Linked DNA regions of Homo sapiens: region 2 is linked to region 1. Evidence: promoter capture Hi-C in 16 types of primary human blood cells and fetal thymus (Javierre and others, 2016). All regions are on one chromosome and are shown on one strand. Each heading gives the region's core, a stretch centred on a gene start or on the middle of the fragment in contact. The rest is flanking DNA. Distances are from core to core; before and after follow the strand shown.

Region 1 (6,912 bases), core at 4,101-6,600:
AACTGATTTAAGAAGTTATTTGGGACCAGTCGTGATGGCTCACGCCTGTAATCCTAGCACTTTGGGAGGCTGAGGCAGGTGGATCACTTGCGGTCAGGAGTTCGAGACCAGCTTGGCCAACATGGTGAAACCCCATCTCTACCCAAAATACAAAAATTAACCGGACATGGTGGCACACACCTGTAATCCCAGCTACTCAGGAGGCTGAGACAGGAGAATCACTTGAACCTGGGAGGCGGAGTTTGCAGTGAGCTGAGATTGCGCCACTGCACTCTGGCTCTGAATGACAGTGAGACTTTACAGAGTGAGGCTCTGTCTCAAAAAAAAAAAAAAAAAAAAGAAAAGAAAAGAAAAAGAAAAAAAGAAATTATTACGAACTTTCACCATGCCGCTCCTATTTAAGGTGAGGTGTGGGACCATTTTGAGAAATGAATCAGGTTTCCTCTGAACTGTCCCTGTTGTTTGTCATAAGCTGCAGTGAAAACTCTATATATGGGACACTGCTACCGCTGATGAGCTTGGAACACTCCTCCAGGTGCCTTCTTAAACCACATCCGGTCTTCCTGTGCCTCCCAAGCCCCATGCCAAACAGCATCAGTGACAGTGAAGGATCTCTCTGGTAGAGGCTGCCGTTTTTGGAGGCATGTAGAGCCAGCAAACCTCACCTCACCTGGAACTATGTTAAATGTCATCAGTCTTTAAGAGCAGGGGATCATTTGCAGATCATCACTCACAGCATTTTCTTAGTCAATAACAACATCACAGAAGAAACCACAGTATTGTTTTATTAGCCCTTATGAGTTCCCTTGGATCCTTATTTACATGTTGGATATAGTCAGGTCAAATAAAGTACCCCAGACTCAAGCCTTGTGATGGTCCATATCCTCAACTGAATTCTTAGAATATAATTCTAGGGGAAAGAATATGCCTCCTTTTTTCCTGTCCACTTTCAGATAAGTTTCCCTGTTGAATCTGGCTGGTGATTTCTTATTTATTAATCAGTGGGAAGGCAGAATAGGAAGTCTAGTTACATTATTGGGCTGCATCTCTGAAATCCTAGATTTTCTTGGTAATAATGAATAGTAAAGAGAAAAATGCCTCTCTCTCTCTCTCTCTCTTTCTCTATCTCTCCATTAGAGACAGGGTCTTACTCTGTCACCCAGGCTAGAGTGCAGTGTAGCTCACTAACTGCAGTCTTGAACTCCTGGGATCAAGTGATCCTCCTGCCTCAGCCTCCTGAGTAGTTGAGACTACAGGCATGAGCCACCACACCAGGCTAATTAAAAAAAAAAAAAGTTTTGGTTTTTTTTTTATAGGGATGGGGGTCTCACTATATTGCCCAGGCTGGCCTTGAACTCCTGGCTTCAAGTTATCCTCCCACCTTGGCCTCCAAAGTGCTGGGATTACAGGTGTGAGCCACCATGCCCAGCCTGTTGTCTCTGAACTCTAGGATCTAACTCTGACTCAACACTCTCATTATTTGTTAAATTTGAAAGTGGAAATAAATTATATGTAAGAGTCAGTAGATCTACCTCTGAGGTTTGTCAAATATTGCAGCTGCTGCTATTTTACCTCAGATAGAGCTTGTTTCTGTTGTTGCTTTTTAACTTCTGAGCCCCTCACATTTTCTTAATCCATAAAATTATTTCTGGCCCTTCCCACTGATACTGTATTAGTGATATACCTTATGGTCAAAAGGATTGAAAGTTTTCCACTCTTCCGAGTGACTACTGCCTAATTTGTTTCAGGGTCCATTTCATTCCTTTTAGCTCTTGGCATTGTAATTTGCCTTTCTAGGTGTTGTATACACTTTCCACAATAGGAAAGGCTGCAGCACAGGTGAGAGGTCAGGTTTTCTCAAAAGCATGTTCAGAGCAGGATAGTGATGGAGGAGCCAGCATGTTCCTGGGTGTGCTGCGGTAGGCAGCCTAGGCAAACCTACCCCCAAAAGTCTGAGGAAGCTGAAAGGCTGAAAAAGAGGCTGATAAATCTGCCTAAGGGAAAGATTAATGGTCAAGGGTCTTTTGTCCTAAGGACAGGATTCACAGTTAACAAGGAACAGTGGTGAGCAGGTCTATGCAAACTTGCCCCCAAAGGCTGAAGAGAGAGACTGACAAATCCAGTTTCTCAGGAAGAAACATTTAAAAGGGACTTAGGAACAGAAACAATCTCTCTGTTGGCTGAGGGATGGTAGATCCCCGCATCTGTGCTCCAGAAAATATCCTCTATATAGCAAGCTTTTTTGGTAAAACATGCAGCTGGTCATGCCTCAGACTTTCTAGCAAAACTTGTGACCACTGGGGAGGTTAGATAAACATCTTTATGAGGGTTTATCCATGCCATGGAAACACCTTGGTATGCAGTAGTCAAACATCGGTCATCATGGCAGTTTTTCTTCAAGACGGCATCACTCTTGCCATGCAACCAGCTGTTTCCCTACCCTGGACCCCACTTCCCCCTAAGTTTGTATTTAAAAAGTGGCATCTTATCAACACATTTTAAGGTAACATGCTGACCTGGTGATTGTCAAGGCCAGAATGGAGAGATATAGTGGGAACAAGACTGTTGGTATGCCTCTTTACCAATTAAGGGATCCTTGTCTCCCCCAAGTGGATGTGTCTCTGGTTGAGGATGACCTTGAAAGGGACTGATTTCTAGCCATGGGGAATACTTAACTGACATCTAACTCCCAGTATCTTCCACCCATCCATCCTACTTTATTCCTTAGGGCTATGCAGAACAAGCCTAGTCTTTCCACTGAGGCATCTTTTAGTTTAGTGAAGACCATGGGCTTGTTTCATGGGTTGTTTCATCAACCTTTCAATATAAAAAGATACCTCTTCACACAGACTTTCTTTACCCCTACTCTGTTGTTTCCATTCCACTTACCTCCTTCAGATATATTTTTTATTTTTGTTGGTTTTTTCCTCGAAGCCCACTAGAATGAAAGCTTCATGAGGCTTTTCATGCCATTTTGTCATGTGCTGTGCTTGGCACATTATAGGCACACAGTACCCTCTGGCTTTATACTCTCACAGATCTGCAAGACCCCTACTGCAACCCAATGCAAACTCCTCTCTCTATAAAAAGATATCTTTTCCCCCAGTAGTTTCAACAGAAGTCATAGAATTGAGTTTCACTGGCCTGGCCAGAATCCTGTGCCCATCCTCAACAAATTACTGTGGCCAAGGGGATGGGCTACATTGCTTGGCTACTCTTGGGTCATCTGCTCAACTGGAATAATGTTTTTTCTTTTTCTTTTTAAAGACAGGGTCTCACTCTGTCTGGCTGGAGTACAGTGGTGCAGTCATAGCTCACTACAGCCTGCAACTCTTGGGCTCAAGTGATCCTCCAGCCTCAGCCTCCTGAGTAGCTGGGACTATAGGCATAAATCACACTATGCCCGGCTAAGTTTTAAAGTTTTTTATGGAGATGGTGGTCTATGTTGCTCAGGTTGGTCTCCAACACCTGGGCTCAAGTAATCTGCCTTCCTTGGCCTCCCAAAGTGCTGGGATTACAGGTGTGAGCCACCACACCCAGTCTGGAATAAGATTTGACTGTTGTAGAATCACATGGCTAGAAGTGATGAAGGATTGATTAAGCACTGCTACTAAAAGAAAGATTGAAGGAATGCAGGACAGGCAAAAGAACACAGGGAGGAATGCATATTCAGAATGTCTGTTTGTCAAGCACTGTATAGGTTGAACACCCTTAATCTGAAAATCCAAAATCCAAAACGCTCCAAAATCCAAAACTTTTTGAGCACTGATGTGATGCTCAAGGAAATGCTCAGTGGAGCATTTTGGATTTCAGATTTTCAGATTGGGATGCTCAACTGGCATGTATTCTGCAAATACTCAAAAATCTGAAAAAATCCAAAATCTGAAACACTTCTGGTCTCAAATATTTCAGATAAGGGATACTCAAGCTGCATATACATTATCCCATTTAATTTACATCACAACCCAACAAAATGGGTACTATTTTTAGAGGAGAAAGCAGACTTAGAAAGATGAAGAAATTTGCCGCTACAAGTTGATGAGCTGGGACTCAAATCCAGGTCTGTTCGGCTCTAGAACAGAACCTATATGTAACATGTCTCTCTTCATCTATCGCTCAGGTTTTATTCACGTGTCACCCTCAGTCATTCACTATGGTTCACTGGATAGCTAGGGAAGCACAGAACAAACACTCAGTATTTCACTCAGGTCAGGCTCTGTGCCCTGAGTGTGCCTGTCTTTGCCATGTTCTCCCAGCCAATGTTTTCTCTCCAATTTCTCCAGTTTTCCAGGCTTTCCATTAGACTGAAACTCAGCTCTGCTTCCATCTCTTCCACGTATTGTCTGAAGCTTTCCCTGATGGTTTCACATACACTAATCCCTGTGAACTCTTAAGTTCACCACTTCTTCTCTGGGGGTGGGGATGGAAAGAGAATAGAAACAAATTACTCTCTGGACAAATTCCATGCAAAGATTTTCAGCTGGGTAGACCCTTGATAAGAGGCCTGAAAAACGTTGGTAAAGTCCAAACCTACTTTTGAACCTCAATTGAGCACCTTTCTTTGTGGCCAGGTTTCACCCTCCAGAGTGTTGGTTAATAGGTTGAGGACAAAGACTCCCTGATCAGAATGAGACTCCCCGAAGATCTGTCCTCTTGTTTAGCAGAATCTGGCACATAGTAGGTACTCAGTGTATATATCGACTCAATATCATGCATCTGTTGTGTCCCAGCTACCTTCCACAGGGCTTGATGGGTTGACTTAAATAATGCTTTTAAAATTCAGGTTATTTCAATACAAACAGCCTGGCATCATTAAGGCACAAGAGCCTCACCCTTCTACACCACTTTCCACGAACTTCCAGTTGCCTTCCTTCAAAATCCTTGTTTTCTTAAGAAACCCACAAAAATACCGCCCCTCTATCAAAACGTCCTCAGCTTTGCCAGGTAGAGAATTGCTTCTGCAGTAGCTGGGCCACGTCTCTGTGGTAGTGCCCACTGCATGGGATCGGTATTAATCTGTTTGTCTTTTTCATCTTCTGGGCTGTGAGCTCCTAGAAGTCAGCTTTTTCACTTTTACCCAAGCCAAACGGTTATTCGCGTAAGGTTGGTTATAATTAAAATGTCGGTTTGTGCACATGGTTTGGGACTCTGTGTATGAGTACGACTAATATCTTCAATTTACTAAGAAGATAAAGAGGTCGATAAATAAGGAGGTCAAGCCCGTTTTGCAAGGTCACACAGGAAAGAAGCAGACCACGAAATGAACTTCGGCTGTCACCTGCGGTGGGCGCACTAGAGGTCTTTTGAACTCCTTCGGCTACCGTCGCCGCGTTCTCGCTGTGCACTCTTATTCTGCGCCTGCGCGCGGCTACAGCACGGTTCGTTTTTCCTTTAGTCAGGAAGGACGTTGGTGTTGAGGTGAGTCCGGTCCCTTTTGCATCCCTACCCCGACACTGCGGGTTGTCACAACGGCACCCTCCCGCTTTCTCTCTGCCTCGGATTTAGTCGTGACTGTGTGTCTCCGCCGTGGTGCAGCTTCAGGCCTCTCCCGCATCTACTCTCTCACGCTTCCGCTGCGGCCTGAGGGAGGGCGGCGGGCGGACCACGGACCGGGGTGGGTTGCGACGGCCCCACCGAAGCCGGGTGGGCTGCGGGACCCTCGAGAACCCAGCTGGCTTCGGAGTGAGCTGGCCCGGGGCTGGTACCCGCTGCGCTTTTTCACAGCCATTGTGACCTTGGTGAGGTCATTTGACCTATCTGGCCCCGGTGTTTCTCCCGTGAGAAAAGGGGTGGTGGTTTCTAATGCAGCTGGTCGTGAGGCGCAAGGGTTAGTGTAGGCGAAGCAGCTGGCAGCGTCGCTCGCTGTGTGGCAGCGTTTTAAATTAGAGCTGGAAAACTGGAGGAGGGTCACCGTACCTGCCGCAGGAGGGGAAGGATGGGCTTCCTGCAACCTCCCTTGCCCCACGGCTTCCCATCCTACCCCCGGCCGCGTTAGCTGAAGGCCAGCAGGGACGCAAAAGTTTTTAGGCCCCTTAGGTCTTTAGGTGAGGCTGGGCAAAGGAGCAGTTAGGGAATTTGGGCCCTCATGGTATTTGCCGCGTTCCCGTCCAGGTTTTAATGGTATACCGTGTGACCGTGGAAAACACCTGCCTCATGATCTGACAGGGTTGTCGCGAAGGTTTAACGAGTGGACAGAAAATTTTTAGAAGAGAAAGTGTTGCATAAATGGGTTTGCAATCGTTAATTACCAATGCGGAGCTACTGCTTATTTTTCTTGTTGTTGGAAAGATTTTTGTTGCCTTTGCTCGTCCATTACTAGTGTGCCGCAGTTTGTCGCGTTTATTTAGGGTGGTCGCTCAGTATATGGGGGGCGGGGGGAAGATGAAACAGGCTAAGCCAAGAGACAGCTTAGGCTTTGTGGGAGGAATCCATCCACTGTCGTGCTGTGCCTCTCTAGGTAGTAAAATGTACTATGCATGAGAATTCCTTTTGATATCTTTTCTGAGTTTTTCTTTTATTATTTTACCCGAGAAAGGGAAAAAAAGCTCAGAGTAGTGAGAGCTACATGAGGTATGCAGGACGCAGAGACCTGAGTATTGGACTTCAGTGCCGCCCCTCACCCATGTCTCAACCCAAATCTTATTCCTGAATTTGTGATATAAAGGACAGCGTTTAGTCAGTCAATAGCTTATGTTATTTTAATGTAAATTTTTGATAAACAGTTTAGGAATTGCCTCTCATTTTTTCTTAACTCACTTGTAGGCCGGAATCCCAGCACTTTGGGAGGACGAGGTAGGATGATCACTTGAGGGCAGGAGTTTAAGACCAGCCTGGGGAGCATAGCTAGACCCTGTTTCTGCCAAAAAAGAAAAACATTCATTTGTAACTGCTGCTAATCGGAGTGTATATTCA
Region 2 (6,678 bases), core at 793-3,292, 960 kb after region 1:
GAGAATGCACGCATAAACGCATCTGCTTTAGGCAGCTTATTCATTCATTCACTCGCTCACTTATTTCTCATTCATCAGACTTTCCAAAGGCACCTTCAAGTACTTGGAAACGAGCTTAGGATACCTAGGGGAACAAGGCTGTACCCCTCCCCGCAAGGAGTCGGCATAAGATGGTGGGGAGAGCAATGGAGAAAAAGTGCGGGTGCCTTCTTTCACGGCCAGTTGTTGTTAATTAGTATTATCTAATACTAGATCTGACTGATTTCCGGAAATGTCGCACCTCATTTTACAGTTTCTAACTATTTGTAACACTTGCCTGCCTTCCTTGTCCGTGCCGATGTCATTCTTTTATTTTCATCACATTTTAGGGATTCTGTGTGTCTACTGCACACCTTCCACACACATCTTGACACACATTGCCCACACCTTGCCAACCCTCCCTGCAGTAGGTCAGAGTGCATGACACTGGGGGTGAGGGAGTGTCAAAATCCGAGGGACCACGGGTGGGCCAGGGCTCAGAGTCTCTGTGCCCCTGGATTACCCTGAGGCTGGGCAGGAGGGTCTGAGGACAGCTGGAACTGACTCACATGTTCCCCTCACCCACTTGGTGCACACTGGCTCCCACCCTGCTTCCTGCTGCCTCAATCTGCCTAGCTCTCCACCTTCAAGTGCATCCAGCATTGGCGTCCTGATTTGTCACCTTAAGATGGAATCAAGTCCCTTTGCTTTTCTTGAGGGAGTATAAAATAGTCTCCCTTCTCCCCCAACTAAAAATCTGAATGACACTGGCACTTTCTAGTCTTCTTATGCCAAGTCAACTTCCCTTATGATTGTTCACTTTGCACTTTCTCTCTAGGACCTTCACTTGAACTTCTCTCCTCGGCCAAAGAGCTGCCTCCACTGGACCATTTGCTTCCCTCCAGGATTTTCTAGTTTTGGGCAGTGAACAATAGAAGGCACTTTGCCTCCCCAAAATCCCGTCTAACTGGAAGCCTCTTGTCATCATCTATTTTCAAGTTTTTTTAGTTTTTTTTTTTAAGCTTTAATTTTAGTGAGTCAGTGCAGGGAAGCCACTGAAAACGCATATAAACAAAAATGAATTTTCATACTGACCATAGTCATAAATTGTACAAAAGTATTCATCATCTCCACTTTGACAAAGGGTTGCTATTTTCAAATGACCTTTTCTTATGGGGATTCTCAAAATATAAGATGTTACAGTGGTCAGGAATGTGGTAATCTCTTTACTACCAGTGATTCTATTTCTTAACAGAATTTTGCTTCCCAGTGCAGATGGTTTGATATAGTAACATTCAAAGCAGCCAGCCCTTAGGAAATGCCAAGGCCAATATTTGAATGCAGATACAAGTTTTAACAAAGGAAAATGTAGTATATCCTTGTAGCTGTTTGCCTGTGAATATTCCCCTGGAGGGCTAATACACTATTCTTGAATCTAATCCAAGTCAAGCCAACTCTAAAAATCCTGTGAAGTACCGACTAATAAGGCACATACAATTCCTTTTCAACAGTTTTCTTGAGTGTCTACTATGTACCAGGTAAGAGGCAATTGTGCTATTGTTTGAAACCTTGAACTTTCATCCTGACTTGGGGGTAGAAGTGAGGACAAGGAAGGTGGAATTTTAAGGTTGGATCCCCTTGGTTTTGTTAAATTGTTAAAGTATTTGTATTTAATGGCAATCTTTAAAACATTTATTGAATTCTGTCTTACATTTTTAGTCATTTTTATAAGTCAAGGAGAGAAAATCAATGTTTAAGCCAGCCCATTTATTAGAAAGTGAATGCCAGCACAGGCTTAACTTCTGGCTTTCCAACTGGAAGACAACATTTTATAATGATGTTATTTCACTTCATGCCAGGTGATAATTCCACTGTAGCTTCATTGTGATTGGTGACCATAGCTCACTCAAGCTGATTCTCACTTCCTGACTGTAAGGAGCCACAGAGAAAAAACAAATCATTCTTCTTCTGGCACCCTTGCTGGAGGAGGAGTAAGGGAAGAGGCAGACGGCTAGATTGGCCCCATCCTCATAGTTTTTTGGGAGAATTTGGAGCAGGACCAGCTCAGATCAAAGTTTCAAAGAATACTGGTCTTATAAGAAGTGATGAGCTCTGTTATCTTTGCCTCTGAGCCCAAAACACAGAAAACTTCAATGGATCTGGAGACATACCAGTATGAGAAGCCCCCCTCCACTCTTTACAGTGTCTGCTCATACTGCTTGTCTTAGCCACATACTTCACTTTTCAGTCACCAAACCCCTCTTCCCTTGTCCTTTCCCCCATACCATCCCTGGCCCATGCTTTGCAAGTGGGCTTGCCTCCAGGAATCAAACTGGGTGGATGCTATGATGTCAGAACACCAGGCAGCAGTGTTTCTAACGTGTTAGACCATGGTTGTCTTTTTCTTTTCCTGGAAAAGTACACTAAGTGCAAGTTGTCTCCCAGGCCATGAGGCACACATCCAAATGCCCTACGTGGTGGGCCCGCCCAGGCCCAGGAGAGTGTGGAGAACAAGTGTGTCATATGGGTGTGTTCACTAGTCCTGCTCCCCCTCTGTCTCATCATTGACCACATTCTCTTGACAAGCCATATGGCCTGGGAGTGACCTGGAATATATTAAGGGCATTGGTTTGTAGAACACTTGCAGAGCAAGGGAGCAATAGCAGAGTGGTATTTTAGAGTTGGTAATTCATTTAATGTACATTTATTGAGGATGTTTGGTATGGTAGGCCTTGTGGTAGGTACTGGGAACGCAATAATGAATTTGGAGCTATGGTCTACTGGGAAGATGTACAAGTAAATAGGCAATTATGATATCGTATGCATCAGAAACCCTGGATCCAAGATCCCTAGTTAATAGCTCTATTATGTTGGGCAAGTCATGTTGCTTGTTGAACCCTCTGTGTCTGAATCTGCAAATTAAGGATATTCTGAGGGTTAAATAACATGGATGCAGGCCAGGCATGGTGGCTCACGCCTGTAATCCCAGCACTTTGGGAGGCTGAGGTAGGTGGATCACAAGCTTAGGAGATCGAGACCATCCTGGCTAACACAGTGAAACCCTGTCTCTACTGAAAATGCAAAAACAAAATTAGCTGGTGTGGTGGCGGGCACCTGTAGTCCCACTACTTGGGAGGCTGAAGTGGGAGAATGGCATGAACCCGGGAGGTGGAGCTTGCAGTGAGCCAATATTGGGCCACTGCACTCCAGCCTGGGCGACAGAGTGAGACTCCACCTCAAAAAAAAATAAATAAATAAAAACAAAAATAAATAAATAAATAACATGGATCCATATTAATGCTCTTAGTAGTTATGACTTTTTCTTACCCATTAACATGAACTGACCTTACAAAATTATTCCTCCTATCCATGTAAGAAGTTGGAGAGAAAACCAAGGGGAAGAAATTTGACTCAATACCTATTATCTGGTTATCAAGAGTATACAATTTAAGCTGTTGGAACAAATGTTAGAGAAAAAGTTACTCATCTGCTTTGACAGTAAGACTTTTACCAAGAGAAAATGTCTACATTTTCATTTTTTACTGAAAAGTAGGAATACAGTACCATGCATTATATTATAATCTTGTTTTAATTGCAATTAGAGAATACATGGAGTGAATCTATAATGAATAGGTTGTTTTAAGCTTCTAAGTTATTATTTTGGATGCTATTCTCTAATGAAATAATGATGCAATTAATTTGGGGATACTATTGATGTATGAGGCCTTGAGGAAGGAGATTGTATTAAAATACAATTGAGCTGTGTGTATCAGAAAATCCAAATTAACATGGGTTTAAACAACAGAGAAGTTGACTTCTCCCACATAAATATAGACAAGCCAGCATCAATATGGTGGATAGCTTCTTCATTATCAGGTACTTGGGCTCATTCTATCATGTGTTTTCACCAACTTCAAGCCATGACTCTTACTTTATGGTCCAAGATAGCTGCATTCTGACCCACAGCAAGAAGGAAGGCATGAAGGAGGGCAAGCCCCCCACCCCCACCTCTAAGGAGACTCCACAGAAAGCAGAACCTAGTCACCAGGCATATCTAGCTGCAACGGAGGCTAGGAAATGTAGTCTTTACTCTGGGTAGCCATGTGCCCAGTTTAAATTCAGACTTCTATTACTAAAGAAAAGGAGAATGGATATAGGGAGACAACCAACAGTTTTAGCCATAGGATGTCTAGGCTTGTGCTTTGCTCTTTATATATGTCATGTTATTTTATTTTATTTTATTTTATTTTATTTTTGAGACGGCGTCTCGCTCTGTTGCCCAGGCTGGAGTGCAGTGGCACAATCTCAGCTCATTGCAACTTCCACCTCCTGGGTTCAAGCTTATTCTCCTGCCTCAGCCTCCCGAGTAGCTGGGATTACAGGAGCATGCCACCACACCTGGCTGATTTTTGTATTTTTAGTAGAGACGGGGTTTCACCATGTTGGCCAGGCTGGTCTCGAACTCCTGACCTCAGGTGGTCCATCCACCTTGGCTTCCCAAAGTGCTGGGATTACAGGTATGAGTCACCGTGCCCGGCCTACATATGTCATCTTATATGTGTTGGCACCATAATCACTGTCATTGGTTCTACATCGTTTTCACTGACACCTTTGCTGCTTTTATGGTTTTAAGCACTATATGCATTGGCAGGATTCTACTTTGGAACCCCTGAGCATATTGCCACTACTTGCCCCTTTTTGTTCACTCTTAGTTGTGGCTTCCGATATGCAGCTTTCTTCTTAGAGTGGGGAGGTGTGAACAAAGAAGGTGGGTCGGACTTGGAAAAGAGAGGTTTCAGGAACCTGGCTGGGGATTGTTGGGGAAGGCCACTTGTACCACATGGCAGCATTCCTTTTGTCAGATATGTACTAGGTGTCAGGTGGGCCTAGTGACTGGGTCTTCTGCAGCAGGACTTCATTTTTTCCTTGGAAGATGGAATAGGAAATGAAACAAAACAGTACATACTAGTGGAAAAGTCCCTGTACTGAAGCCCTGGATTCTTCCTGGCTCTGTTGCCATATAAAGCAGACTTGGTCGGCAACTGCTAAAGGCAGGAATGGCCTTTTTATTAATATAACCTCATAGTCAGAGGCTGCAGAAAAAAATGTGCAGCTTGGGTTCCCCAGAGGGGCAGAGTCAAAACTGCAAGCAGACCCCACACACAGCAGGGAAGGCCCTGCTCAGCCAGAGCCCAAGGACAATCTCTAAAGATAAGTGTGGAGAGACTTAATTACCATTTAAAATTGTCCTGGCCTGACCTCTCTGCCTGGTGGGTTAACTTTGCTTCTGAGCCTTGTCCTGTGTTAATACTTACAGGCTCTATTCTCTCTTCCAAGTCTAGAAGTATATTTAGTAACATAGGTATGGAAGGAGGGTGGCAGGAAGGGCCTAGAGCTCCCCAATCTCACCTGGAATCACTCTTCAGGATGCTGCTTGGCTTGGGGCAAGTTTGAGTATGGAGGTTACATGCAGGGTGTTGATGCCAATATATGGGGAGAGGGATTATTTCCCTGCAAAAACATCTGGAGTGACACTGAAGACATACTTATATACAATTTACATGAGCCCCAAGGGCTTCCCATGCCTGAGAGAATTGGATAGATAGTTCCTATTACACATTTATTTCCTTAAAGGAGATATTTTATATTCTACCCTGTAATTCAATTCTTTTGACTCCCCACTCTGCTAAAAAGAAAAAGGACATATAGTCCAAACAATTTTTAAAATACATTTCCCCCTCCAAATAGTAAATGTGCACAATTTGTGCAGATTTACACACATCTGTAAGCTATGCCTTGTTTATGCCAGTGCTTACAATATTTTAAAAATAAAGGATAATGTTTTTCGGTCTGTATACAATAGTATTTTCTTTTATCAACTCCCCACATACAAATGTATTTCGCTTTTTTAGGGTGTTATTACATGTCTAAATAGTAATGTACACAACTGATACATAGGAAGGACACATATGTTTTACAACAAACATACCAAAGGATGTAAAATACTCATGCTGACTCTTTAGAATACAATACCTAATAACCTGCAGAGTTAGAAAAGGCCATGTAACTTGGTCTGACCCCATTCTATGTGTTGGAGTTAGAGGATTTAGGATCATGGAATGTAGTTTAGAGACGATATAACCCAGGTCTCTCATTTTACCTATGTGGCCACAGAGGCTCAGGAGGAAAGTAATTTCCTCAAACTAGCTGACTTTTCCACAGCACAGACCTGGGGCTACTGATTTCAGGCAAAAGGCTCTTTCTCTTATGACCAGGTAACAGTCTAGATTGAAGCTGGAATTTGGCTCTGGGAAAAAGTGGTGACTTGATTCCAGCAGAGTAATTGGCTGTATCAATAGCCTCTGAGTATCAGAATTCCATTCAACCCCAGCTGTCCTCCCAGGGCCTAACTTTTCGAAGTATGGCTGGAGGACCAGGAGCATTGGCCTCACCTGGGGGCTGTTTAGTAATGCAGCAGACCTCCTGAATGAGAATCTGAATTTTAACAAGATAGTTCCCTTGGTGATATGCCTATAGACTAAATTTGGAAACAACTACTCCAGGCCACTGTGCCTCTATTGCCAGATAATTTCCTTAAAGCCCTTTTAAATCACTTTCCTCTGATTCATTAAACACCTACAATGGCTTCCTATTGCTTAT

The links. The method cuts DNA at HindIII sites, captures the fragments that hold promoters and counts their contacts. A CHiCAGO score of 5 or more calls a contact.
Region 2: a fragment that was not itself captured here is called in contact with the fragment with the promoter of COX6C in region 1 in 1 of 17 cell types (fetal thymus); the score reaches 5.8 in fetal thymus.

What each region holds. Positions count from the first base shown.
Region 1 is chr8:99,892,145-99,899,056 of GRCh38, reverse strand. It overlaps COX6C (cytochrome c oxidase subunit 6C), which reads left to right and starts at 5,350. Exons shown (of 4, transcript NM_004374.4): 1 at 5,350-5,418. RefSeq lists a silencer at 5,569-5,738 and enhancers at 5,212-5,859, 5,860-6,508. The HindIII fragment of the contact is 2,962 bases long and covers 4,352-6,912 here.
Region 2 is chr8:98,932,513-98,939,190 of GRCh38, reverse strand. LOC112268016 (collagen alpha-1(I) chain-like) reads left to right here. Exons shown (of 2, transcript XM_047422523.1): 1 at 1-1,556. It also overlaps a transcript of STK3 not described here. Among named protein-coding and RNA genes, the nearest start is that of OSR2, 8.6 kb to the left of the region's middle. The HindIII fragment of the contact is 2,000 bases long and covers 1,043-3,042 here.